Linked DNA regions of Homo sapiens: all the other regions are linked to region 5. Evidence: promoter capture Hi-C in 16 types of primary human blood cells and fetal thymus (Javierre and others, 2016). All regions are on one chromosome and are shown on one strand. Each heading gives the region's core, a stretch centred on a gene start or on the middle of the fragment in contact. The rest is flanking DNA. Distances are from core to core; before and after follow the strand shown. Region 1 overlaps RORA-AS1 (RORA antisense RNA 1). Region 2 overlaps SLTM (SAFB like transcription modulator). Region 3 overlaps SLTM (SAFB like transcription modulator). Region 4 holds the start of ANXA2 (annexin A2). Region 5 holds the start of GTF2A2 (general transcription factor IIA subunit 2). Region 6 overlaps ANXA2 (annexin A2). Region 7 overlaps ICE2 (interactor of little elongation complex ELL subunit 2).

Region 1 (3,870 bases), core at 739-3,238, 820 kb after region 5:
AAGTAATAAACTACATAAGAAAGGTGTATAGATTGAGGTTAGAGGGAGAGGAATAGCTAGTGTGAGGGACAAAACGCAGTTTTGAATAGTATTGAGTACTTACATGTCAGTTGCTGCACTGAGCACCTGCCGTGTGAGCTCATTTGAAGAATGTGGGTATGTGGAATGAAGAGAAAGGGCGTTCTAGACAGACCAGCACAAGTGTCAAAAGACAAAAATTTGACACATCTAAAGATCTCAGTTGGCCTTATTGCGATTCTGGAATCAGGCAACACTTCATTCCATAAAATGGAATGAGTGTCCCAATGAGTGGAACAGAGGAGGTTGGCATTACGGACAGAAAAAAGGTCTGTAGAAAGTAGAAACAAAGAACAAAAAGCAGATTGATCATTTCAAAGTTACTTTCCTGGTAAGGTGGAGACAGACAGTACAATAGAAAGATAACTGATTGGTTAACATCAGGTTACTTCAAGTTACTCTTTGCTGTAGGGACTAAAACAGAGGAAATTCATTATCTTGCTGATTGAAAATTGAAACTGGCCTGTTACCTCTGTCTCCTGATTTCTTGGAGGGCCACATAACTCAGTTTCGGTGTGGTGAGCCTGAGTGATACCATTTTTATTTTAGTCTGGTCTCTTGGGGTCTAGTGCAGAAGTTCTAAACAATGGCCTCCTATAATTTTTTTTAATACAAGGAACTGCATAAACTTATTGCATAAACAGAATCTAGTGTGTGCTATTAGGGAAGCATGTTCTACATTTTATTTTAAGACAGAGTCTCCCAGACTGGAGTGCAGTGGTGTGATCTCAGCTCACTGCAACTTCTGCCACCTGGGTTCAAGCGATTCTCCTGCGTCAGTCTCCCTAGTAGCTGGGACTACAAGTGCATGCCACCACACTTGGCTAATTTTTGTATTTTTTTTTTAGTAGAGATGGGGTTTGCCAGGGTGATCTTTAACTCTTGACCTCAAGTGATCTGCCCACCTTGGCCTCCCTAAGTGCTGGGATTACAGGTGTGAGCCACTACCCCTGGCTGACATTTTAGACTGATTTAGAATATTGTTAGAAATTATGTTAATGTAAAAAATATGCTACAGGAAACCATAGGTAGTTTATTTTGCCTGGAATGCAAGGTCTCTGAAGAGTAGTAGAGGAAAAGGGGTTGGAAAAACTGGTTGAAGCTAGAACACGTAAGATTTTATAAGCCAGACTAAGGAAGTTTGACTTTATTGCATAAGAAATAAAATGCTAGGAAACAAACAAACAAAAAAGCTTACATAATGACACAATCAGAACTGGCTGGCTGTGCTTCAGGAAAGTTCACCTGGCAACCTACGGAATTCATTGAAGGGAGGAGGCCAGTTAGGAGACAGTGTTTGTGAATGCTTAAAAAAATCAACCACTACAATGCCTGGCACTGTGCAGATAGCATTTCTTTTTTTCTTTTTCTTTTTTCTTTTCTTTTCTTTTTTTTTTTTTTTTTGAGATGGAGTCTCCCTCTGTCGCCCAGGCTGGAGTATAGTGGGGCGATCTTGGCTCACTGCAACCTCTGCCTCTCGGGTTCAAGCGATTCTCCTGCCTCAGCCTCCTGAGTAGCTGGGATAACAGGTGCATACCACCACGCCCGGCTAATTTTTGTATTTTTAGTAGAGACAGGGTTTCACCATGTTGGTTAGGCTGGTCTTGAACTCCTGATCTCGTGATCCGCCCACCTCGGCCTCCCAAAATGCTGGGATTACAGGCGTGAGCCACCATGCCTGGCTGCAGATAGTATTTCTTATTAGGTAAGTGATGTGGATGGCTTGTGTAGGACAAAGGCAGCGTAAAAGTTCATGTGTTGGGTACTGTCTCACAAAGCATGCAGTCAGGAAGAGTTGGGGACACCTGACCTGGCCTGAAGGAACTGCTCTAATTGTTTAAGAGCTCATGCTGCTGGGAGGTACCTGCCCATGGTAGTGTGATATGGTAGCATTACCATACAGCTCTGTGTTGAGATTTCAGATCATCACCAAACAGTATGCTCTGAACTGGTATATCTGAGTTTCAATGGTTGCAAGATAGCACACAGAATCAGAATTTTTAGAATCAGAACACGATTTGGAGATTATCTAGTCCAACCCTCTTGTTTTCCTTACAAGGAAATGGGCTCGTTTCAAGATTGTCAAGTGACTTTTCCAACATCACATGATCAATGATAAAACTGATACTAAAACTCAGGTCTCATAATTCTTGCCAACGTGTGCATTGTGCATCTTCCCAAAATTCATATCTTATATGAATATGTAATTCATATGTCATATTATAGGAGCCTAATGGCCTCCTATAATTTTTGTTTACTACAAGGAATCCTAATGGTATTTGGAGGTGGTATCTTTAGGAGGTAAGTAGGTTTAGATTAAGACACAAGGGTGCAGCCCCAATGATGGAGTTCATGCCCTTGTCAGAAGAAGAGAAACCACAGCTCATTCTCTCCCCCAAGTGAAGACACAGCAAAAAGGTAGCCATCTGCAAGCTAGAAACAGAGTTCTCACCAGGAACCAAATTGGCTGGCAGCTGGATCTGGACTTCCAAGCCTCCAGAACTGTAAGAAAATAAATGTCTCTTGTTTAAGCCTCCCAGGCTATGGAATTGTCATAGCAGCCCCAGCGGAGTAACATAAAATACAATAAATATATGCATCCTTTCTTTTCTGTTTTGTGAACCACAAGAAGCTTAGTGGCAAGAACATGGACTTCTGGATTCCAGTAGTTATCTGTCTCAGGTTGGCATCTCAGTTTTTCTGTCTACTGGCACTGTGATCCTAGGCATGTCGTGTGTCCTCTTGAGTCTCAGTTTCTTCATCTGGATAATGGAGGCAGTGATACCTCACCTACAGAATTGTTGTGAGGACTAGAAGTAATATATATATAAAGTGCATTGCAAAGAGTAAATGTTCAACAAATACTAGCTATTAGTATATAATTTTTCTGAAAGAAAAATCAAAGATGAACAAAACACAGTGGAGATGGCACTGTACAAAGACCTATAATGCAAAGAAGAAATGGTGGGCCGGCCGCGGTGCCTCACGCCTGTAATCCCAGCACTTTGGGAGGCTGAGGTGGGTGGATCACCTGAGGTTGGGAGTTCGAGACCAGCCTGACCAACATGGAGAAACCCCGTGTCTACTAAAAATACAAAATTAGTCTGACGTGGTGGTGCATGCCTGTAATCCCAGCTACTTGGGAGGCTGAGGCAGGAGAATCGCTTGAACCCGGGAGGCATTGGTTGCACTGAGCCGAGATTGCGCCATTGCACTCCAGCCTGGGCAACAAGAGTGAAATCAGTCTCAAAAAAAAAAAAAAAAGGAAATGGTATACATATATATATAGAAGATTCCATGGGACCACAAATGAGTAAGAAATTCATTCTGATGGAGATAATTTAGAGATTACTTCAGAGGAGTTTAATTTATTTTGGGTCTTGAAGGATGTGTAGGAGTTCACTGGGTAGAAAAGGGGTTGTGGGTTTTAACTGTGGGAAAAAAAATCACAGAAGTGTGAACAGCTCCACATATTCTGGGGAAGAGGAAAAGCTGTTGCATCGCTGTGTTGGGGAAATGAAGGTTGTTGGACTGGAAATGGTGAAGCGGACTAGAGATGGTCTTCATTGCCATGCTAGAGATTTTGGACTTTATTCTCTGCATTATGGGGAATCTGTGTGTGTATATGTTTGTGTATCTGTGTTTTAAATAGCTTGAGTTATAAGCTACATACCATAAAATTCATTCATTCTAATTGTACCATTAGGTGACTTTTAGTAAATGTGTGAAGTTTCACAACCCTCAACATGATAAAGTTTTGGAACATTTCCATTAACCCCCAAATCCTGTGTG
Region 2 (3,467 bases), core at 508-3,007, 760 kb before region 5:
GTTTGTTTTAAAGAGAATGCTTGCTTTGGGATATAATCCGAATACCATTAGGCTCACAGGGCAAATCTTCCTTCTCTTAGGCACTAATGCAAACAATAAATTTTTGCTAAATTTGTTAAAATTTCAGATTACAGTATTTGAACACTGTAGCTACTTTGAAACTATCTTATCTCAAATTTTTCCTTTGAAGTCATGTTTTTTATGGCAGCAGCTTTGGTGTTGAGGAAAGAGCATTGGACTTGGAGTCAGAAGACTTGGGTCTGAGTCCCGACTCTGCCACTTGTTAGCCATGTGGCCATTGGAAGAGTCATTTAGCCTCTCTGGGCCTCCATTTTTTTCAATTGTATAATGGGCATAACTAGCCTTACAGAACTGTTGAGTTGGAGACAACAGATGGAAAAGCACTTTGTAAATTGTAAAGTGCTATGCAAACTTAAGAAATCATTAGATGCTACCGTAACTTCTTTAAGGTGGCAAACAGTTTTCTGTGGGAATACAATTTCCAGAAATATGGCTTACAACTAGTGTTAAATATTTACCTATATTTAAAGACAGGTATAAAACAGACTCTCTTCCTACCTTCGAAGTTCCATTGCTCGTCGCAGCCTTTCAAAACGAACTAAATGTTCTCTCAACCTTTGTTCCTTCATCTTTTCAAAAGGCAAGATCTCTTTCCTTCTGTAGTCTTTATCTCTTTTTTTATCTAGACTAGCTCTCTCCTTTTCCTTACTTCTTCCATGAATCTGTAGAAAAAAATTAGAAGAACACTAGAAATTAAAATATTTTGGGGCTTTATTTTTCAAGTTTAGTAGGTCATTTAAAAAGTTCAAATGACTAGTAACATTTCCTTTTTCTTGGGTTTGCTAGCATGCAAGTACGCAAAGATGGTTATGGAAAAACAGAATTATCTTCTTTTGTAAACAGCTGAAGTAGTATACAACCATCCTGATCAGAGACTTACTTTCTCATATCTTCCTCTTCTTGATGGTCTACAATGATCTCCTTTAGTTTGGTCTAGTATTACCATATGTCCTGGACTCTTGGAACCTAAGGGAAAAAAATTATATAAAACAATGTCTAAAATTTTTCATTGAGAAAGAAAATATGTATGTAAAAATGCTAAATTCTGATAGTCACACACCAATACATGAAATAAAAAAACTACTTATTCTACAAGAACTTCAATGCAAAGAGTTTTTTAAACAGTTCAGTCTGCTAACATAAATACTTTCAGTGATACCAAAAGATCCTAATTCAATAGTACTAATCAATGACCATTTTAAGTCAGCCCAGAATAGCAAAGGAGCTTAGCTGGAAGAATACATTTGTTTGTTTCCCCAGAGTAGAAAAGAAGACAATTACTCCTACTAGACCTCCTTTCCTACCACAATGACACCTAACAACAAAGCTTATATCTGGATTAGAATTTCAGGTTTTCCCTTCCACTGTAAAAATTAAGTAGTAGAATGCATTAGAAAGGGATTGAAAAGATGTATAGCATACTTATTCGCTTCTTTTCTTCACTTTTTTTAATCGATTCTGATGTTTGGCCACTTGCTCCATTATCATTCTTCTCATCTTTACCTTCTATTTTCTTAGTATCCTTGCTTTCTTTTTTTTCAGATTTCTCAGACGATCTTTTCTCTTCTTTTTTGACAGAGGCTTGTGTCCTGACCATACCGCCCCAGACAAAAAAACAGAATGAGTACTTCATAATGTACCAAAAAAGTCTATCTGCTTATCAAAATAAATAAATAAAAATAAATCCTTACTTGCTACTTCTATCACTCGTATTTTTTTTATCTCCAGAACTTCTTGAACTACTCTTTTCATCATTTTCTTTCTTCATTTCTTTCTTAGAGGGATCACCTTTTACCTGAAAGGTTCGAACCAGAAAAACAATTTGTACATATGGTTACATTTTTGTGATTATAAGAAGTGTGCTAATGGCAGAAAATTTGGAAACGATAGGAAAAATATAAGGAGAGTAAAAACTACAAATACATAAAAATTAAAAATCACTGCAAATTCTACTCCCTGCTACTGTTAACAGCTATGAGTTGAGAACTAGCCATCAAATTAGACTTGCTTTGATAAACAGTTAGGGAAGCTTACTTTTTCAACAGAAATCAGCTGTCCATGCAGCTCAGTGCGATGAAGATGTGCAATACACCTGGACACCTCTGTGCTTGAAGACATAGTTACAATGCCATAGCATTTTGCCCCAGGACTTCGAGCATTTGTAACTACTTTTGCACTCAGAACCTATAAAATCAGACTGTACTTTAGAGAGTTTTACAACGTTCCAAGTACACAGACTTCTAAATACATGAAACTTCACAACTGAAACTATATATTAATTCAGGGTGTATCTTATTCTGTCTCATGTTTTTTTTTTTTTTTTTGAGATGGAGTCACACTCTGTCACGCAGGCTGGAGTGCAGTGGTGTGATCTCAGCTCACTGCAACCTCTGCCTTCTGGGTTCAAGCAATTCCCCTCCTTCAGCCTCTCAAGTAGCTGGGATTACAGGCATGCACCACCATGCCCTGCTAAGTTTTGTATTTTTAGTACAGATAGGGTTTTGCCATGTTGGCCAGGCTGGTCTCAAAGGCCTGACCTCAGGTGATCGGCCTACCTCGGCCTCCCACAGTGCTGGGATTACAAGCATGAGCCACTGCAGCCAGCCTATTTCATATTCTTGTGATCACCATCTACGTTACCCATCTTAGTAAATATTCAGGGGAACAATTTAAAGTGCCAAAAAGCAATTTAACCTTTTTATATTTATTTCCTCCCCTCAAATATGTAGCCAAAACACAATCTCATCAATGAAGTAATGGCACAATTAATAAAAGCAAATAAATTGGATTTGAACCAAAATATCCCTATCATAGGCCCACCCTGAATGTCTTTAGAGAAAGTTTCTAGTATTTTATTGATGAGTGTTAACACTTTTCTATAATGAGTAAAGAACCAATCACATATAAAAAAGCGGACTTAAAAATGCATCCCCCGAAAAACACCCTAAAGCTTGAAAGACAACACTTTCAATCTATGTGCTTTTAAAACGTATATGAACATGACAAATAATTGCAATTGTGTAAGATGGTTAGTTAAGAGAGACAAAGCAGGGATGGATGAGTGAGAAGAAAAGAGAGAGAACGATTCGGTGCTGAACAAAGAAGAGTAAAGACATAAAGCTGGGAAGAAGTAAACAGGAAAATCAGGAGTTTTATGGTATGGGTGGCTGGAACAAATCAACTTTTACCTCAACCCTAGGAAAGGCTGATTTGCTCCATAGCCATTTATTTTTTAACTCCACGGGTCTTCTTACCAAATAAATGGTATCCTCATATAGTTTTACTACTAATAAATACCAACATTAAAATATTGTTTTCACATCTCTAACAATACATTATTGAAAACAGAAGAAAAAATATAACACAGCCTATCATGGGACTACAAT
Region 3 (3,403 bases), core at 881-3,380, 730 kb before region 5:
ACTGGAGAAACCCGTCTCTACTAAAAATACAAAATTAGTTTGGAGTGGTGGCGCATGCCTGTAATCTCAGCTACTCGGGAGGCTGAGGCAGGAGAATCGCTTGAAACCGGGAGGCGGAGGTTGCAGTGAGCCGAGATCACACCATTGCACTCTAGCCTGGGTGACAAGAGCGAAACTCCATCTCAAAAAAAAGAAAAGAAAAGAAAAACGGACATCACATTAAAACAATATTTAATATATCCTTGGTTTTCAAATCTGTTCATTATTGATATTTTAATAAGTTTCCCTATACAAATTTGGTTTCTAAAAGTTATTATTTAAACATCTTAATTCTTTTTTAAAATAGAGATAGGGTCTCACTATGTTGCTCAGGCTGGTCTTGAACTACTGGACTCAAGCGATCCTCCCACCTTGGCCTTTTGGGATTATAGGCATGAGCCACTGCACCCGGCCTAAAATAATCTTATCACTTTGTAAAATGGCAGAGAAAACATCTCTGCCATTTTAGAACTCTGCCATTTTAGAAGGCTAGAACTGAGTTGGTATGACGCATTTAAGCAAAACTGGCTCTAAAGATGATCAGTAGCGCTTGGAATTTGAGACAAGAGCATTCTTTAATAAGTAAACTGGGTTCAAAATCTCTCATATTAAAAATAATAAAAATAAAATAATTGAATCAATAAGCATCTTTATTGTAAATTAATTCAAACTGTTTGGAGTTGGAGATTTACATTATATTCTTTGTAATTCACAAGATTTTCATAACAATGATAGCCGGATTTCAAGAAGACTAGAGCTTTTTGTCATGCATCTCTTAGAATGAGGCCTGCTACAAACAAATGATTGAATGTTACAACTTCTTTTTTTTTTGAGATGGGGTCTCATGCTGGACTGCAGTGGAGTGACCTTAGCTCACTGCAACCTCCACCTCCTGGGTTCAAGCGATTCTCCTGTCTCAGCCTCCCCAGCCTCCCGAGTAGCTGGGACTACAGGCACGCGCGCCACCATGCCCAGCTATTTTTTTTTTTTTTTTTTTTGTATTTTTAGTAGAGATGGGGTTTGGCCATGTTGGCCAGGCTGCTCTCGAATTCCCGACCGCAGGTGATCCACCCGCCTCAGCCTCTCAAACTGCTGGGATTACAGGCGTGAGCCACTGCACCCGGCCCCCAAATGTTACAACTTCTAACTGAATACCTTAAGACCTCTTAACATCAGAGTTATGGAATAAAGTTCAAGTATAACCCATACAAAGAAAAAAATTAGCAAACATACTGATAAAAATAAATAATGTTTACTTATTTAAAATGTTGTGGTGGCACATGCCTGTAGTCCCAGCTACCAGGGAGGCTAAGGTGGGAGGGATCACTTAAGCCCAGGAGTTTGAGGCTGCAAAGAGCTAGGCACCACTGCACTCTAGCCTGGGCAACAGAGCAATACCCTATTAAAAAATATATATATATATCATATATGATATATATACACCTATATATAATCTATATATCATATATATAGATATATATACCTGTCATAAAATGTATTGAAAAAACCCTTAAAATTTTATATTGCTGAAATTATTTCTAATAATAAGAGATAAATGATGTTCCTAGTCAAAACTGAAAAAGGGATATACAGAGAAATTAAAAGTAGGTGAGAAAGGAATAAATCATGTTTATTTTCAATGCTAAAATAATAGTCAACTCAAACAACCTGGGACTATGATTAATACACAGTACCTGTCAAACTAGCACAGCATGCTAGGTAAAAGATATGAATCAAAACTACTGCAAGACACATGGTTAATTCCTGATATACTTATTTCTGAATTTCTATCGTTTTCCATTTTGAAATAGCCTCTGGTTTGTTGGCAGTCTTCTCATGACAAGCTTCTTTAAATACAGAAAATGTATCTCTCAAAGTGATACACTGAGTCAGAGTTATCTTAAAAGCTACCTTTAAGATAACTTTTTTACTTCTCTAAACTACATCCCCACCTCTCCCAGGGAATGCTTATTAGCCCTTTTCAATTTCCTTTGGCACAAACAGGGGACTCTCCTAACCTAGGAAGACTTAAAATAGTGAGTTGTCCTCATCTCTGATACCCAGGTGTGCTTAAGATCAAAATTTAATATTCCCTTTTCAATATTAATCCATTCATTTTATTTTAGTTGCAATCATTCAGTGGTTGGGAGTAACACTTGGATCACTTAAAGCAGTAAAGAAAATTAGATTACAAAAAATGCAGCAGCTGTTCATGACAAACTCTGCATGAAAATTGTAGGTAAAGACCAGAATCCAGATATATCATGTCCACCCTCTGCCACTGTCCTTATAGGAGGGAGAAATTTGCAGTTATTCAAATAAAGGTTTCATTTACCAAGAAGCTTTAAAAAATACCTAAGTTCCATTCATACTGCAAAACGTTCATTTAAAACCACTTTTAGCTAGTCACTAAATCATTATATCCTAGAAATAAATATATTTTGCTCTAGCTTAAAAGTTAAAAATAAGAATCTTTAACATCCCTATAATTTAAAACTTTTTTAAGCTAATTAATCATGGATTTTTCCCTCTACCTTGTTAGTATGATTGGTGAGGTCTTTTTGAATTTCACTAAAAATTAGGAGGTATAATGGCATAAATGCAAATTAAGTTCACCAAGTCAAACAAAGTACTAAACATAAAGGTTATAGAATTTTAATATACTAAAGAAAACAGCAAGGAGGCAAGGTAAAAGATTTGGTAGGAATTCCATCAAAACTCTGCCAATTGTGGGGCAAGGTAGACATGTGTTAAACTGTATTTTATTCAGGTCTTCACACTATGAAGCATCATTACACAACTTGACTTTGTAATTTTTTCCGGAAGCAATAAAGAACTGTTCTCACTTTCTAATCAGCTTCAGCCGAATCTTAAGGGCTACAAGTCACCCAAAGCCTGGCAACAGTAACTTTTCTTCCTTGACCCAAGAAGGCAGACTGCCAGAGGGAAATAGCAAAGAGTAGCACTATATAAACAGGGCAAGAGGCACAAGAGCAGAGGCAAGTTATATAACCAAAATATATTTTAAAACATGTTCATAACTCGTAACAACCTTTGCCTTTAGTTGGTTTCTTGTTTGGAGTATCAGTTGAAACAGTTAATTCAATATTATCTGGATCGCCTCCTTCCTCTTCAATAGCCTACATTAGAAAGAGAAGTTAATATGCTACACAATCTATCTAAACTTATTTTATAAAAACGAAATGAAAAAAAATTTAGCAAACCTCAAGCCTCAAGACATTAGAATTGCCAGTCATTTCATCAACCGACTTCAAAAATGAGCAATTAAACTACACGAAAGAGTGAGAGAAACTTTCAGGGGAAAAAAATCATTAGGTATCAAAATCGCAAGGAGTTTTAAATT
Region 4 (3,524 bases), core at 69-2,568, 740 kb after region 5:
ACCTTCTGCAACACTGTTTCAGTGGGAAAGTGCATTCTGCATTCCAAGTCACCAAGTTCCAGACAGGCACAGTAGCACACACGTGTGAACAGAATCCATCAGTACAGTCTGGGGCCCAGGCCTTTGCACACCAACAACTTAAGGTTCTTGGTAATGGCCCAGCGTGCACCCATGAGGCCACTGCTCTTTTACACACGCACTCAGAACACCCACAGCTTTAAAACGGCAATCTTACTACAAAAATGACACTTTGCATTTGCACAGCACTTTGTTTTTTGTGTACTTTACACATTTATTACCTAATGACTGTGTTTTTTGAAATCTCCAATAACTCTGGGTGGTGGTAAGAATAGGCATCCTTAAGCCACCTTCCCAGATGAGGAAACTTATCTGTGTTCCCCTCCTTCTTCTCAACAGCCGGCTGATGGAACCCAAGCCCTCCACACCAGCAGTGGGGCCAGCTGCACAGAGCGGCCAGAAGGGAGAGGCCCCGGGGCCACGCCCTTCTCTCTACTCTCAGTTCCTGACTCATTGTCACATCATGGCGAGTAACAGGACAACCCTCCCCACAGAATCATGGGGGACACTACCTTCCTGAGGCCAATGTGTTCAACCAAGCGGGAAACTCTCCGGGTAGAGTGAAATCCGAAGTTGCTATGCTACAAGATAACCTAGAGCAAGGGGAATAACTGACGTTTTAATGTCTTCTTTTATGGGGGGCTGAGGGGTGCCTACTCACACTCCCCCCTCTCGTCTTCCCCCGCTACTTCCCTCCTGCTGGTCGGTTCAACTCCACAAGCGCGCGTTTGTTTCGAGTACAGTAACTTAGAGCAGATGGGGGGCACTTTCTAGAGGGCAGTGGAAAGCCCACTTGCTACTGCTGCGCCGGGGACCTGCGGCTCCCTGGGCGGCCACGCCCTGCCTCGGCGGCGCCTGGCGCGTCTGGAATGCGGGGCCTCCCTCCGCCCCTCTCCCCACGCCGCCTCGCCCCGCTCCCGCTAGGGCTTCTTAGAGAAGCCCGACCCCCCACCACCTCTGCCCTGCACCCTCCCGGCCCGAGGGCCGGTGGCCCCTCACCCCTGCCCCAAACACCTTGTCCCTGAGCCCCCTCCCCAAAGACTCTCCAGTGCCGGCCGTCCCTTCAGCCCCCTGCCCCCGACGGCCTCCGGGGCCAGTTGCCGGGGCCTCCCTGCCAGGCCGTACCCTTCTTCCCAGCGTCTCCACACCCCGCTAGCTGGCGGCCCATCGCGGGCGGGCAGGGCGCGCCCCGCTTACCTGGGCCGTGCGCCGAGAGCTGAGAGCGTCCCCAAATGCTGAGCAGAGCCGGCTGGCCTGGGTGGGGCTTTTATACCCGCCACATCCTCCCTAGGCGAGGCGAGGCCCGCCCCGCCCCGCCCCGCCTCCCCCTTACACGGCCCGCTCCCACCCCAAGTCAGGGGTGACTCACCCCGGCCCGCCGGCCCGCAGGGACCGCGCCCTGGAACGCTCCCGAGCCGCGCCACGCGGGAGCGGCCCCAGCGCCCCTGGCCCTGCCCTCCGAGAAAGCCCGGCCGAGGCTGCCCCGAGGCCCACAGGGACCCCGTTTCTTCCTCCTTTCCTCATTTTACTTCTTAAGTGCCACGTCGAGCTCTCAGCCTCGGCTTGGGTTAATAAATTAACAAGACTTTAGTAGTAGACTCTGGGCTTGATTAAGTGTTTTTTTTTTTTTTTTTTTTTTTTTGGCGTTAATGCAATGGAGGAAAGAATTGTTCCAAGAAACATAAATCTGGACTCCCCTGAGCTGGGGCTGTTGGCATCCAGCGCCCCATTACCGTCTGCAAACATGTCAGCTTAACCTCTGGCCGCCAGTTCCCGGGGGGCGCCCGGGGAGGGAGGGAGATTCGCCCTGTGCTGCAAAGCCTGGCCCGCCCCGGCCTCCGAGGGCCAGGAAGCCCCGAGCCTGGGCTGGGAGGCCAAAGCCGGGAGCCAGGATCCCACCTCAGTCCCGCCCAGGGTGGCGCCCCTGTCCCTAGCACGGCTGTGCTCCGCTTCTCTCCGCGCCTGGGGCATCTCTGCGCGGCCTCGTAGCAGGCAGTCCTGAGCGGGGTGGGGCCCATAGCTTTGAACCCGGAGTTTCGTGTGTGTGTGTGTGTGTGTGTGTGTGTGTGTGTGTGTGTGTGTGTGTGTGTTTCGAACCCGGAGTTTCAACAAAGAACTTTCCTCTCCTTCTTTCATGACTGCTGGGGTGTGTGTGTGCGTGTGTGGTGTGTGTGTGTGTGTGTGTGTGTTTCTTGCAGCCGTTTAGCCAACTCCCTTGCTCGGTGTTGCTGTTACTCGCTTTTCTTCCGAGAGAGAGAGAGAGAGAGAGAGAGAGAGAGTTTCTTGCAGCACAGAGAGAGAGAGAGAGAGTGAGATAGAGAGTTTCTTGCAGCCAGTTAGCCAACTCCCTTGCTCGGTTTTGCTGTTTCTCACTTTTCTTCCGTGTGTGTGTGTGTGTGTGTGTGTTTCTTGCAGCCGTTTAGCCAACTCTCTTGCTCGGTTTTGCTGTTTCTCGCTTTTCTTCCGTGTGTGTGTGTGTGTGTGTGTGTGTGTGTGTGTTTCTTGCAGCCGTTTAGCCAACTCCCTTGCTCGGTTTTGCTGCTTCTCGCTTTTCTTCCAAGAGTCACGTTGGCAACGTGCAGGCAGACACCTATTTGTTGTATGTGAGACGACGCAAATACTGTATTCGAACCTCAAACTAACAGGAAAGCGACGCTGAGAATCCCGAGGATCTCTGGCTGCGTTTTTTAAACCCCTCCTTGCACACTACTTCCTGCAGCTCTTTTTCCTGGTTTTGATGATTCTGTGTTTCAATCTCCCATTTATCTTAACATCCATTTTTACTTTCCATTTGAGCGTCAATTCACTCCTGGGAATCAGAGAATGATAGCAAGGCCAACAGACATTCAGTGCTCTGCCCACTCGCATAGAGTGACACAGGCAAAGTCGGCCACAGCTGAGGTCTTTTAACCCGCCCAAAGCTTTCTGTTACCCAGCGCTTTCACGAGGAATTATACGCGATGGGCCCTACCACAGAGCCAAATAGAAAATCAAGCAACACTTTGGGTACAATTGCTGATTTACATTTATAGCTCTTCAATTTAGCCTGAAAGCTTCAAAGTCAGAAACAATGTTTATCTGCTTACTTTGTGTGAACATTTTGGAAGGTTAGGGGAACACAGGCAGACAGTAATATTGGGCACGATTCAGCCTCCCTTCTGTGTATCTCAAGATAGGTTCCACAGTCTCTTACTCCTAATCGTGCTGTGATAGGCCCTTTACAGAAGATAAAATTTAATTCAAATCATGTGGAATATATAAAAGCCATCAAATGTCCAAAAGAGTTTTGTGCTCATCTTGGGCATGCCACAAATTCTAACTTCTATAGATTTGTACAATCACCAGTCTTTGCATCATGCTAAAGAAATGTGCACTGATGTTATCATAAAAATGAAGCTATTAGAAGTCATAGTTTGCTATTTCTGAGGAATGTGAGGCCAGTTCTT
Region 5 (3,742 bases), core at 801-3,300:
TCCTCTTTCGTACAGGATCTTACCTTGGCTTCTGGGACACTGCCCTTTTCGGATTGTCCTAACTCACAAGTTCATCCTTCTTAATACTGTTTGCTGGTTGATCCCGTTTTCGCTAAACTCTTAATATCACAGGACACAGTCCTTAGGCCTCTGCTGCTTTCCGTCTACACCCATTCCTTACGGATAACATTTATTCTCATGGTTTAAGTACCACTGCTGATGATCCCCAAATTCATATAGCATAGAACTTCTCACTCCTGAATCTAGCTGCCTACTCAACATCTCTATTTGTTATCTTTTGCATCGTGGCTTAAAGAACTCCATACTTCTACGAGCTTGGGCAAAACCTTTGATTTCATCCTCCACTCCCTCTATCTCACTCTCCATATCCAATTCCTAGCAAATACTGTAAGGCCTACCTTCAAAATGCATTCAGAATCCAACCACTTCTCACCATCCCTACGGTTATCACCCTGACCTGGGCCACTCTCGTCATCTGGATTACTGCAAAAATCTCCTAAATGATTTCCCTGCTTCTACACTCACCCCTACACTCTAATCACAACTCACAGCCAGGGTGATCTTCTAAAACTTCAGTTACAACATACCTCTCCTCTATTCAAAATCTCCCATGGCTTCTATCAGCCTTTACAATGATCCGGCTACCATGATCTCTTTGACTTTATCTTCTTGTCCCTCCACCCCCAAAACTCTTGCTCATCCCTCTCCAGATACACTGGCTTCCTTGCTATTCCTCAAACATGACAGGCCTAAAAGCATTTGTATTGGCTTTCCTATCTGCCTGAATGCTCTTCCTGATATTTACTTAGCAAATTTTCTTAATTCCTTCAAGTCTTTGCTCAAATAACACCTACTAAATGAGGCTCAAACTGACCACCGTCATCTTTAAAATACCAGTTCCCACCTCCACTCTGGAACTTTCCCGTACTCCTTTATATTTCTCTTTTTTTTTTTGATGGCACCATCACTTTCTAACACCATTATATATTTTATTTTCTGCATCCTCTAATAGAATGTAAGCTCCATGAGGGCAAAGCTTTTTATTTTGTTCACTTAAGTAAAATAGGCGTCTAGAACAGTACCTGGCACACAATAGGAGCCAAAAAAAAATCTGTTCAGTAAACGAAGGCAAATATCAGTAAGTATAATATGCGTGTGGGAGGGGAGAGGGGGTTAAAAAGGGCAAGAAGTCCCAATAGGTAGATAAAAACTCCACAGAGTAGGAATACAGAATCGTGCATCGTGTCCCATTTGACAAATTTTTGAGTTTATCTAGAAAATAGCCCTGCGTTAAACGTTTGTTAAAAGTGCTGATTTCAATGTTCTTACATTCTTTAAAAATTCCTTGTTAAGTGTTCTAATCTTTTAGATGTGGTATCAGCCACAGAAATTTATTGTTCCCTTCTTGTTTTGCAGTTCAGAAAATTAGAAGTCAAATTCGGAAGTAACTCGTCCTAGCATTTTTTGATTAAACCACCAAGTTTAAAATTCGTTCCTTTTGTCGGAGTTCGCACGAAGAAAGTTGGAAGGCAGACTTCAAACAACAAGCTACAAAGCACAGGAATGAGACATTTAAAAAATGCTCTCCGAAATTCGGCAAAACTCACAGGGCGCTAGTGGATGCTTTAAGACATTCACCTGGCTGAAAATACGGTGGTGGGCTGAAGACCTCCCCTAGGTGGGTTCTGTGGGCGCCCCGTGAACGACGAGCCTCCCGCCACGGGACGCGACCATCACCGCCGCCTCGCCGCCCTTCTCCGGTGCCGGCCGCGGGGCCTTGCCGGCAACGGTCGGTAACGGGCAGATCCCAGGAGCGAAGGGCCCTCAGAGACTACCCCACCAACGCACTCCGACTCCGGGGGGGCGGCAGGGAGCGCGGCCCTGCTTCCCTCCCTAACCCTGCCCTCCCTAACCCACTACCTGTGGGGAAGGCGCTTCCCTCCGCGGAGCGGACAGAAGCCGCCACGAGCCCGGCAGGAGGTTCCTACTTCTCCGACCACCTCTCCAGCCGCCGCAGAAACCGCAGAACTGAGCTGACGACCCGGAAGTGCTCGCGGAACCTGGAAGTGACACCCCGCCCGAGGGACGGGAGGCCCCGCCCAGCCCTGCTCTCGCCCGCCACTCAAGCCTTGTCAGGGAAGGGCGTGGAGAGGGAAGGAGGGGCGTCGGGCTGGAGCTTGAAGCCTTAAAGTGGTGGACAGGCGCTCTGCTCGAGTAATTCACCAGGTTTACTAAATCGTTCCTAAGGGAATTATAATTTTTAGAGACTAATCTTCTCCATTGTTAGATGCACAATTTAAGAAATGTAGGGCATTCATATTTCATGCCGGAAGTGTGTTCAGGGTAACAGTGTTGAAGACCTTGCAGACGAATTCTGAAAAGATTATAGCAGGGGCCGGGCGCGGTGGCGCACGCCTTAATCCCAGCACTTTGGGAGGCTGAGGCGGGTCGATCACCGGAGGTCAGGAGTTCGCGACCAGCATAATATGGTGAAATCCTGTCTCTACTAAATACAAAAAATTAGGCAGGCGTGGTGGCGCATGCCTGTAATTCGAGCTACTTGGGAGGCTGAGACAGGAGAATGGCTTGTACCTGGGAGGCGGAGGTTGCAGTCAGCTGAGATCGCGCCATTGCACTCCAGCCTGGGAAACAAGAGCGAAACTCCGTCTCAAAAAAAAAAAAAAAAAAAAAAATTATAGCAGGGTAAGCAGGGTATCTTCTTTACCCCTCGAAACAGGGCTGCAGGCAAAGTTTTTAGTTTGTGACCAGTTCATGAAGAACTTTAATTTGGGAGAAGTTATATTTAAAATTTGCATCTAATATGCAAGATAAATACTTCACTATAAATTTCAAGTTTGCAAAATCACAAATTGTTTTAGGTGTCAGGGTGCATGGTACACTAACTGGCTTAAACCCAGCAGTCATGTGTAGAGCAGTTTATCCTACAAAATAGCTGAATAGTGATTAAAGAGTATGTGCAAAACAACAACAACAAAACCACAAAAAACACCAAGTGGTATCAGCTGGAACCTCTGAGCAGGTCTATGAACTAAACAAGTTCTTCTTATTTAAGCCATGTTTTCGGCCAGGGGCGGTGGCTCATGCCTGTAATCCCAGCACTTTGGGAGGCCGAGGTGAGCGAATCACCTGAGGTCAGGAATTCGAGACCAGCCTCAACGTGGAGAAACCCCGTCTCTACTAAAATACAAAAAAAATTTCGCTGGGCGTGTTGGTGCATGCCTGTAATCCCAGCTACTCGGGAGGCGGAGGCAGGAGAATTGCTTGAACCTGGGAGGCGGAGGTTGCGGTGAGCCAAGATGGCGCCATTGCACTCCAGCCTGGGCAACAAGAGCGAAACTGTCTCAAAAAAAAAAAAAAAAAAAAAAAGCCATGTTTTCATTTTAAGCCACTCATGGTTTCATCCTTGGATTCCCCATTAATTAAAAAAAAATCTCAACTATGAAACACAAAGTTTCATTATTGTTTTGATGTTAAAATAAAGCAGGCTGAACTCTCTAATCCCCAAAGAATAGAAGCACTTAGACTATAGAAAGGGAAACAAGTGTAAAGGTCTGAAATTATTTAAGAGGTTTATAGGATAATTCAAAGCAAAAATTTAGTAGCATAATGAAAGAAAAATGTGATAAAAAGACAAAGACGAACGTTCCAATTAATTTATTTAAATTCATTAATGTTGCAAAAAATATGATGTGCAACAAAT
Region 6 (3,451 bases), core at 544-3,043, 720 kb after region 5:
CTGGCAGAGTCACAGGGTGGCTGTGACTCAGCACTGGCCTCTTTGTTCCCAGCACTGCTGTAAGATGAGAAGTCAGTCTAAAGTAAACTTGAACACAGAGAGAAAGGCCTCAGCAACTGGGAAGGGTCCGTTCCCTCCCGTTCCCTTCCAGGAGGGTGAGAAGGCCCTGGGCTACGTGAGTCACAGAAGAGCTCACACTCAGACCTGCTCTTGTTGGTTTAGCTCCTCACTTGCAGCCCTCCGTTAGAGGAGAGAGGCTACTTTTCCCAGCCAGTCTGCCTCTTGGCGCCCTCAAGAGAATATATTTCTAATTGTTCTGCTCAGCCAAATGAATATACCTGGCGTGCAGGTGAAACCAAAAATATCCATCCTGGCTTGTTCTGCAGTGGCATGGGATGTTAGTCTTTTGGCCACAGAAATCTTAAGCAGTTCTATTTTAAAAGTATAAGAAAAAAATAAGTGCAAAACTTCGTGCAGTTATGCTTCTATACTTGCGCTTCTGAGAAAGGGGGGAGAAAAATCACCCACTTTTGCATCCCTTCCGGAGAACACAAATACTGCTAAAATCAAAACTGGCAATAATAATAGGGTAATTCATTACCCTCCCCTTCCAGAGAGAGACCAAAGCTGTACCAGTTTATTGGCACTTACACTAACTCTGGGGTTGTGCTGCTGCTAATTACAGTCTATTTTCTGGAGTCTCGATTCATCCTTTTCTAATTTAGCTGACTCTCCTTTCTAGTTATTTGGACCCATATGGTAAACCATTCACAGCTGTGTTGTACACGCCATCGTATATATTTAACCCAAGGCCAATCTAAACCAAGAGACTCCTACAGATTAAGTCTCAGCAACCTCTTGTTAATTAAGCAGTATTACTACTTTTGCATGACTGTACTCAGTTTCTAACCAGACATAAATTAAGGTAAGTCGTTGCATAGTCTACCTCAGGACGGAGCATACATAAAACAATCCTGCATTTGGTTTAGGCAGCACAGGCAAAAAATACTGAGATCCCTTCAAACTAGAAACAAAGCAGACTTATTTTGATTTTAGCAGTATTGTGCTTCTCCCCCCTTCTCATAAGCACAATAAACGAGTATGTAGAGTATGATGAGAACACAGACCAAGAAATAGCTGGTTCTGCCTTCTCAGAGAAAGCTTGTTGATGCTGTGCACTGGCCCAGGCTGAGAGGTAAATGGGAACTGCGCAGATGTTTGAGGTGGGGAGGAAGGAGGCTACACGCTCCTCAAAGAACAAAGGCAGAGGCATGCTCTGTAGAGGGCCGTGAACAGAGCCAGAGACGAGGCTAGAAAGATACTCTGTAAAGGCTGAAGCAGGGAGGTCCCTTAGAAGACAGATGCCATAGGCCAGGCGCAGTGGCTCACACCCGTAATCCCAGCACTTTGGGAGGCTGAGGCAGGCGGATCACCTGAGGTCAGGAGCTCAAGACCAGCCTGACCAACATGGAGAAACACCATCTCTACTAAAAATGCAAAAAAAAATTAGCCGGGCATGGTGGCACATGCCTGTAATCCCAGCTACTCGGGAGGCTGAGGTAGGAGAATCGCTTGAACCCGGGAGGCGAGGTTGCAGTGAGCCGACATTGTGCATTGCACTCCAGCCTGGGCAACAAGAGCAAAACTCTGTCTCAAAAAAAAAAAAAGAAGACGACGACGACAGATGCCATAACAGCTCACAGGAGAGGGGTGACAAGAGTTAGGGGAAGGGGTGAATAAGAGCTGCCTCCCAAGCACTGGAAAGTGAGCCAGGACAGGTATTTTTGGTTTTGTCTGCACACCTGGAGGTATATTCATTCAGTTGAGCACAGCAATTAGGAATATATTCTCTCGAGGGTGCCAGGAGGCAGACTGGCTGGGAAAAGTAGCCTCTCTCCTCTAACAGAGGGCTGCAAGTGAGGAGCTTTAGCTCACACCAAGAAGAGCAGGTGTGACTGACAGTTCGTCTGTGAGAACAGCCTTCGTGACTCCTGCAGCCATGCCCTGGCCATGGCAAGCAGTGCCCCCAAACAGGTCTCTGACCAGCTCTACCCTCCTCGCCATCATCCCACTCCAGGCCTGCTCCTGTGCACCATCCGTGTACTCGACAGCAGCTGATTAAGCCTCCTCCAAGGTGGCCTGCTCCCAGCTCTTCTTCCTGAGAGCACACAGACCACAGGGAAATCAATGGAACATTACATGGAGTGGGTAGCGTCCCGGCACACTCACACACACGTGTGTACACACGGCTACCCCCGTCTAGGAGAGAAAGAGGGCCAGTCATCGTCACATGGTCCTCTGGCTTTTGTTTCTATCAATACTTGAGGTTTATACCGTGTCCTTTGATGTCAAGGAAACACCAACTACTTAGTATTGTCTCTTCCCGATGAAGGGTTAGAGGTGGGAGTGGGGCCAAGGTGTGGTGTAAGCTTCTTAATTACACTTAAGGCAAAAGGCATTCTAAAAAAAGAAGGTAAGATCTTAATTAGCTCATTTTTAAGTGGTTTTAGTTATCCAGTATCTAATAATATCAAGGAGAAGGAGGAAGGAACAAAAGGGTTGTTATCCTTTCCAACTAATGACTTCATTTTTGTTTTTAATTAAGTTTACTGCCTTCCACTATGAAAGTAATACAAGTCATCATAGAAAATTTGCAAAATACAGAAATACAGAATATACTGAAAGCCCAAGAAAGGAAAAGGAGCAATTGCCCACAATTCCATATACAGGCATACCTCGGAGATACTACTGGTTCGGTTCCAGACCATCACAATAAAGCAAATATAGCAATAATGCAAGTCACACAATTTGGTTTCCCAATGCATATAAAAGTGTGATTATATTATATTAAGTGTGTAATAGCATTATGTCTAAAAAACACATAACTAAATTTAAAAAATACTTTTATTTCTAAAAAATGCTGGCACAGAGACAAAGTGAATAGCATTGCCACAAATCTTCAATTTGTAAAAACCATAATATCTACACAGTGCAGTAAAGGAAGGACCATGAAGTGACGTACGTCTGTTTCCATTGCTAATGCCTTTTATTTTTTCTTTTTTGATTAAAAGAAATCATAGGCCAGGCCTATGATTTCACACCTGTAATCCCAGCACTTTCGGAGGCCAAGACAGGTGGATCACATGAGGTCAGGAGTGCGAGACGAGCCTGGCCAACATGGTTAAACCCTGTCTCTACTAAAAATACAAAAATTAGCCAGGTGTGGTGGTGCATGCCTGTGGTCCCAGCTACTCAAGAGGCTGAAACAGGAGAATTGCTTGAACCCAGGAGGGTTCTGCCAGGAGGCAGAGGTTGCAGTGAGTCAAGATCATGCCACTGCACCCCAGCCTGGGCAACAGAGTGAGACTCCGCCTCAAAAAGAAAAAAAAAATGGTTGTGGTTGTGATCACATAGCATATACCATCCCATTTCTATTTCTTGATGCAACTGA
Region 7 (3,905 bases), core at 341-2,840, 780 kb after region 5:
CATTTTCTTACCAAGCCCCCTTTCATTTGCTTTATGCTCATACAAATAATTAGAAACATTTTTACCAGATGGCTTCCTTCTAAGACACCAAATTCATTTGTACCCATACCTACTTATTATATGTAACACTCATTACACAGTGGCATTTCTAATAACAAAGACATATCGTAATGATTTAAAAACCATAGAAAGGAAATACTAAGCATAATAACTTTTAGATGTTTACTAATTATGTCTTTGAGAAGACTAATAGTTCTTACCTTTTGAAAGAAATTCATTTAAAAAAGTTTTATAGTATATGTCAAATATGGTCTGTCAAAAATAACTATACAGAGAATACCATACTAAGTGCTCTGAGGATCTACCTACTCAAGGAGTTCACAACTCTCTCAACATTGGAGCTTTCTAACCTGTGGGCCTCAAATAAGATATATATGTGCTTAAGATACTCATCACCTCAGCCCTTCAGGCAGCTCAGCAATGCTTGGGATGGCAAAAGCTTCCTGGCTATTGCCCTTCAGCCACAAGCAATCTCTCTTATATATCACAGTGTGCTGTACAAATATTTATGTGCATCAAGGTTGGAAAGCACTGATTTATAGAGGACAAATAAAATCTATACATAATAAAAATAAAGCTTTTATATACAAGCGTTCATTCATATATATATGCACATAAACATATACATGCATACATGCATTCATATGTGTATAGGTAGGTACTCCTTGCTTTGCATGCAGTGTGAGGACCATAAAAATGCCTATACAGGCTGAAACCCTACAATTGTAACAATCAATAGGGAAAATTACAACTGTTTGGTTACCTTTAAAATTTTTATCAAAACACTATAAATTCTCTATCAATCATAAATGTATAGGAAAACGAAAAGAACAGTAAAATATTTTAGTACACTGTAATCCAAAAAATTAAAGTGTTTTCTTCATGAAACGTTAATGAAGAGCAGTTTGAACAGTGCTTGTTACCTTCTTGCACAATTTGTCATAGGAAGGATGCATCTTTTCTTTTTCTTTTTTTTCTTTTTTTTGAGACAGGGTCTCACTCTGTCGGCCAGGTTGGAGTGCAGTGCTGCGATCTTGGCTCACTGCAACCTCCGCCTCCCAGGCTCTTGCGATTCTCCTGCCTCAGTCTCCTGAGTAGCTGGGACTACAGGCGCATGCGACTACTGCCCAGCTAATTTTTTACATTTTAAGTAGAGACAGGGTTTCACCATGTTGGCCAGGCTGGTCTTGAACTCCTGACCTCAAATGATCCACCCACCTCGGCCTCCCAAAGTGCTGGGATTAGAAGCTTGAGGCACCGTACCTGGCCGGATACATCTTTTCTATGCCATGGTGAACCGTTATATTCCTAAGGATCAGCTTCTGACACTGTATCCTTGGTGCCTTCAATGTCATGAAATTATCTTCAGGATTTGTTTACTGTAAAATCTTATGCCAGTGTCACTTGTTCATCCTTTATGTCACAATGCTTTCACTAAGTTTGTCTGGCAGCAAATCTAGAGTCACTGGAACAACAGCAGTGCCAACATTCCCACTCTTTGCTATTTCCTCTGTAATTCCATTTATGTTCCATTCAAATTTCACTTCTGGCAGTATCACCTTTTGTTTCTTTGCTTTGCTTTAATATTTTTTGGTCAATTCTTTTGATTATCTACTTTGGTAAAATATCACATGGGTTTATCACCGGGAGACAAAGAGTCAACACAACTGCACACTCTGCTTTCTGTGCATGAACTCAATGGGTACACAATAAACAATTATAAACAGACTTTGAAAGAAGTGACATGACTGGTCACTGATCATGATTTGCCTGTTACTTATGTAGTGATCTGTGGACTGAAGAGCCAGCAGTGAAGCTTATACTTTATACAATTACTCACTGTTAATACACGGTCATAACTAAAACTTGTGCTTATTGAAACTGTGTGCTAAGTGAGGACTGCCTATATATCAACTATATAGAATTGATAAATATTATAGGGTTGGAGGGTGAATACGGAAGTTGCAATGAGACTATGTGGGAAACTGTCTTAAAGGAGTAAATCTTCAAGTTTTTATGGGGAAAAGATAAAAAGAGTACTGCAACTAGGGAAAGTGGGGAACATGTTTATAGCAAAGCAGAGCAAACAAACAAATCACAAGTGTGTTGATTCTACTGAAAAAAGAGACTATAAGCTATAGAATTGATTCTCAAAGTGTGGTCCCTAAACTAGCAGCATCAGTACGACCTGAGAAAGTCTTAGGTCCCAATACAGACCTAGTGAATCAGACACTCCAGGGTGGGGCCAGCAATCTCCACTTTTAAAAGCACTTCAAGTGATTTTCTTGAACATCTTCCTTAAATTAAAAGAGTATTATAACATTTTTAAAAACTCAAAAACTCAGATGTTATCCCCCCATACCTACACCCCACCAAAAAACCCCGAACAAACCAAAATCCCACAACCATACAATATATGCTTTTCACCAAACACTTGTCACAGAAGCCAAAAATACTATCCCAGTACAATGAAATGAAAGGCTCACAAGAGGATAGGATTCACAGAGAATAATCAGCAGTTAGGATTACTTAGGATTTTACAAAATAATTAAAATGAAGTAATCCATACAGTTGATGTTGAACTGTACATTTAAAAACTGAAACCTTAATTTTTTTTTTTGTCATGAATCTCCATTCTCTGTCAGTACTTTAAACAAAATTTCACTCGTAAGTTTTTAACTGGGCCTTTTCTAAAATGGATGTGGCTGGCAAATTGCATTCAAGTAGCTAATGTTGAGATTGTTGGTGTGAGGTCTTTGGAGGAACATTGAAATTTTGGTTACAGAATGAAAATTACTACAAAAACTTCGAGTATGTGTATGAAGGAGGAGGAGGCAGGCAGTACATCACCAATTAGTGCATTTAGCTACTTCCTTTTTTGAGTTAAGCAGAAAGAATCAATTATCTACTTAATACTCTCATAAAACATGAAAACAAAATACTGATTAACCAAAACAGGAAAAAACATTTTAAGTGAATAACCTTTCTTTGATTAAGAAACACACCCTCATAGGATTTATTACATACAAGCAATCAAGCTATGCAGTATAACACAAAATTTTATTAGACTCAACACAGAATTTTATCAGACTCTGACCTTAAGCTGTTTATTGTCTAACAGGAAGAAGGGATAGGTGTTAAGAGAGAATAAAGTACAAAGTAACAAGTCAGAGAAGTAAAAGACTGCACTAAGAGATCAAAGAAAGCAAAAGACTACACAGAGGAGCAGTCTGAGATGATTAGAAAGGATTGAGATTTATGGGATGCATTGAGATGTTCGATATTGGACATTCCAGTGGGAGGAAATACTACCAATAATGACTAGCAAGTAATCTATTATGTGAGGATGTTAACTGTACATGAAATGAGCCAATGCAAATTGAACTTCAGCCTAATCCCCATACCCCAGCAGAACAACAAAAACAAAGGAAAAAGTCATTTCATCAAAATATTTGAGGTTTTAAAAGTAGTGTCATTATAAGAAAATTTCAAAATAAATATATAGGTCAATAAATAGTTAACCAATTAAACAGTACTCTAAGAAGCTAGAAAACAAATGTGTATTTTTGATTATACTATTAAATAAGTGTTTCTAAAATAGGTCAGCATGGTAGGTCATCCCTGTAATACCAGAGCTTTTGGAGGCTAAGGTAGGAGGATTGCTTGAGGCTAGAAGTTCAAGACCAGTCTGGCAATATAATGAGACCCCATCTCAAGAAAAAACAAAAAATTAGCTGGGCATGGTAGCACATGCCTGCAGCCCCAGCTACTTGGAAGGCTGCAGTGGGAGGATCACTTGAGGCCAGGAGTTTGAGGTTACAGTGAGCTATGATCACATGACTATA

What was found. The method cuts DNA at HindIII sites, captures the fragments that hold promoters and counts their contacts. A CHiCAGO score of 5 or more calls a contact.
Region 1: a contact is called between a fragment that was not itself captured here and the fragment with the promoter of GTF2A2 in region 5, in 5 of 17 cell types (non-activated CD4 T cells, naive B cells, megakaryocytes and 2 more). The highest score is 6.9, in non-activated CD4 T cells.
Region 2: a fragment that was not itself captured here is called in contact with the fragment with the promoter of GTF2A2 in region 5 in 5 of 17 cell types (monocytes, total B cells, M0 macrophages and 2 more); the score reaches 8.9 in monocytes.
Region 3: a contact is called between a fragment that was not itself captured here and the fragment with the promoter of GTF2A2 in region 5, in 8 of 17 cell types (erythroblasts, neutrophils, total B cells and 5 more). The highest score is 9.4, in erythroblasts.
Region 4: the fragment with the promoter of ANXA2 here is called in contact with the fragment with the promoter of GTF2A2 in region 5 in 1 of 17 cell types (monocytes); the score reaches 9.1 in monocytes.
Region 6: a contact is called between a fragment that was not itself captured here and the fragment with the promoter of GTF2A2 in region 5, in 1 of 17 cell types (M2 macrophages). The highest score is 5.8, in M2 macrophages.
Region 7: a fragment that was not itself captured here is called in contact with the fragment with the promoter of GTF2A2 in region 5 in 1 of 17 cell types (M2 macrophages); the score reaches 6.3 in M2 macrophages.

Annotation. Positions count from the first base shown.
Region 1 is chr15:60,479,765-60,483,634 of GRCh38, forward strand. The region is part of intron 1 of RORA-AS1 (RORA antisense RNA 1); the gene reads left to right. Among named protein-coding and RNA genes, the nearest start is that of RORA-AS1, 2.5 kb to the left of the region's middle. The HindIII fragment of the contact is 1,439 bases long and covers 1,270-2,708 here.
Region 2 is chr15:58,892,318-58,895,784 of GRCh38, forward strand. It overlaps SLTM (SAFB like transcription modulator), which reads right to left. Exons shown (of 21, transcript NM_024755.4): 10 at 2,116-2,265; 11 at 1,773-1,876; 12 at 1,504-1,670; 13 at 962-1,047; 14 at 580-743. Among named protein-coding and RNA genes, the nearest start is that of SLTM, 40 kb to the right of the region's middle. The HindIII fragment of the contact is 702 bases long and covers 1,407-2,108 here.
Region 3 is chr15:58,929,265-58,932,667 of GRCh38, forward strand. It overlaps SLTM (SAFB like transcription modulator), which reads right to left. Exons shown (of 21, transcript NM_024755.4): 2 at 3,092-3,179. Among named protein-coding and RNA genes, the nearest start is that of SLTM, 2.7 kb to the right of the region's middle. The HindIII fragment of the contact is 498 bases long and covers 1,882-2,379 here.
Region 4 is chr15:60,396,668-60,400,191 of GRCh38, forward strand. ANXA2 (annexin A2) reads right to left here and starts at 1,319. Exons shown (of 13, transcript NM_004039.3): 1 at 1,276-1,319. RefSeq lists enhancers at 1-256, 257-848, 342-391, 452-501, 522-711 and silencers at 872-1,011, 1,082-1,621, 1,742-2,051. The HindIII fragment of the contact is 5,260 bases long and covers 1-2,997 here.
Region 5 is chr15:59,655,465-59,659,206 of GRCh38, forward strand. GTF2A2 (general transcription factor IIA subunit 2) reads right to left here and starts at 2,051. Exons shown (of 5, transcript NM_004492.3): 1 at 1,942-2,051. BNIP2 (BCL2 interacting protein 2) reads right to left here. Exons shown (of 10, transcript NM_004330.4): 10 at 3,682-3,742. RefSeq lists an enhancer at 1,858-2,087. The HindIII fragment of the contact is 4,994 bases long and covers 1,056-3,742 here.
Region 6 is chr15:60,374,727-60,378,177 of GRCh38, forward strand. All of the region lies in intron 3 of ANXA2 (annexin A2), which reads right to left. Among named protein-coding and RNA genes, the nearest start is that of ANXA2, 22 kb to the right of the region's middle. The HindIII fragment of the contact is 1,268 bases long and covers 1,160-2,427 here.
Region 7 is chr15:60,438,354-60,442,258 of GRCh38, forward strand. The region is part of intron 12 of ICE2 (interactor of little elongation complex ELL subunit 2); the gene reads right to left. Among named protein-coding and RNA genes, the nearest start is that of ICE2, 39 kb to the right of the region's middle. The HindIII fragment of the contact is 568 bases long and covers 1,307-1,874 here.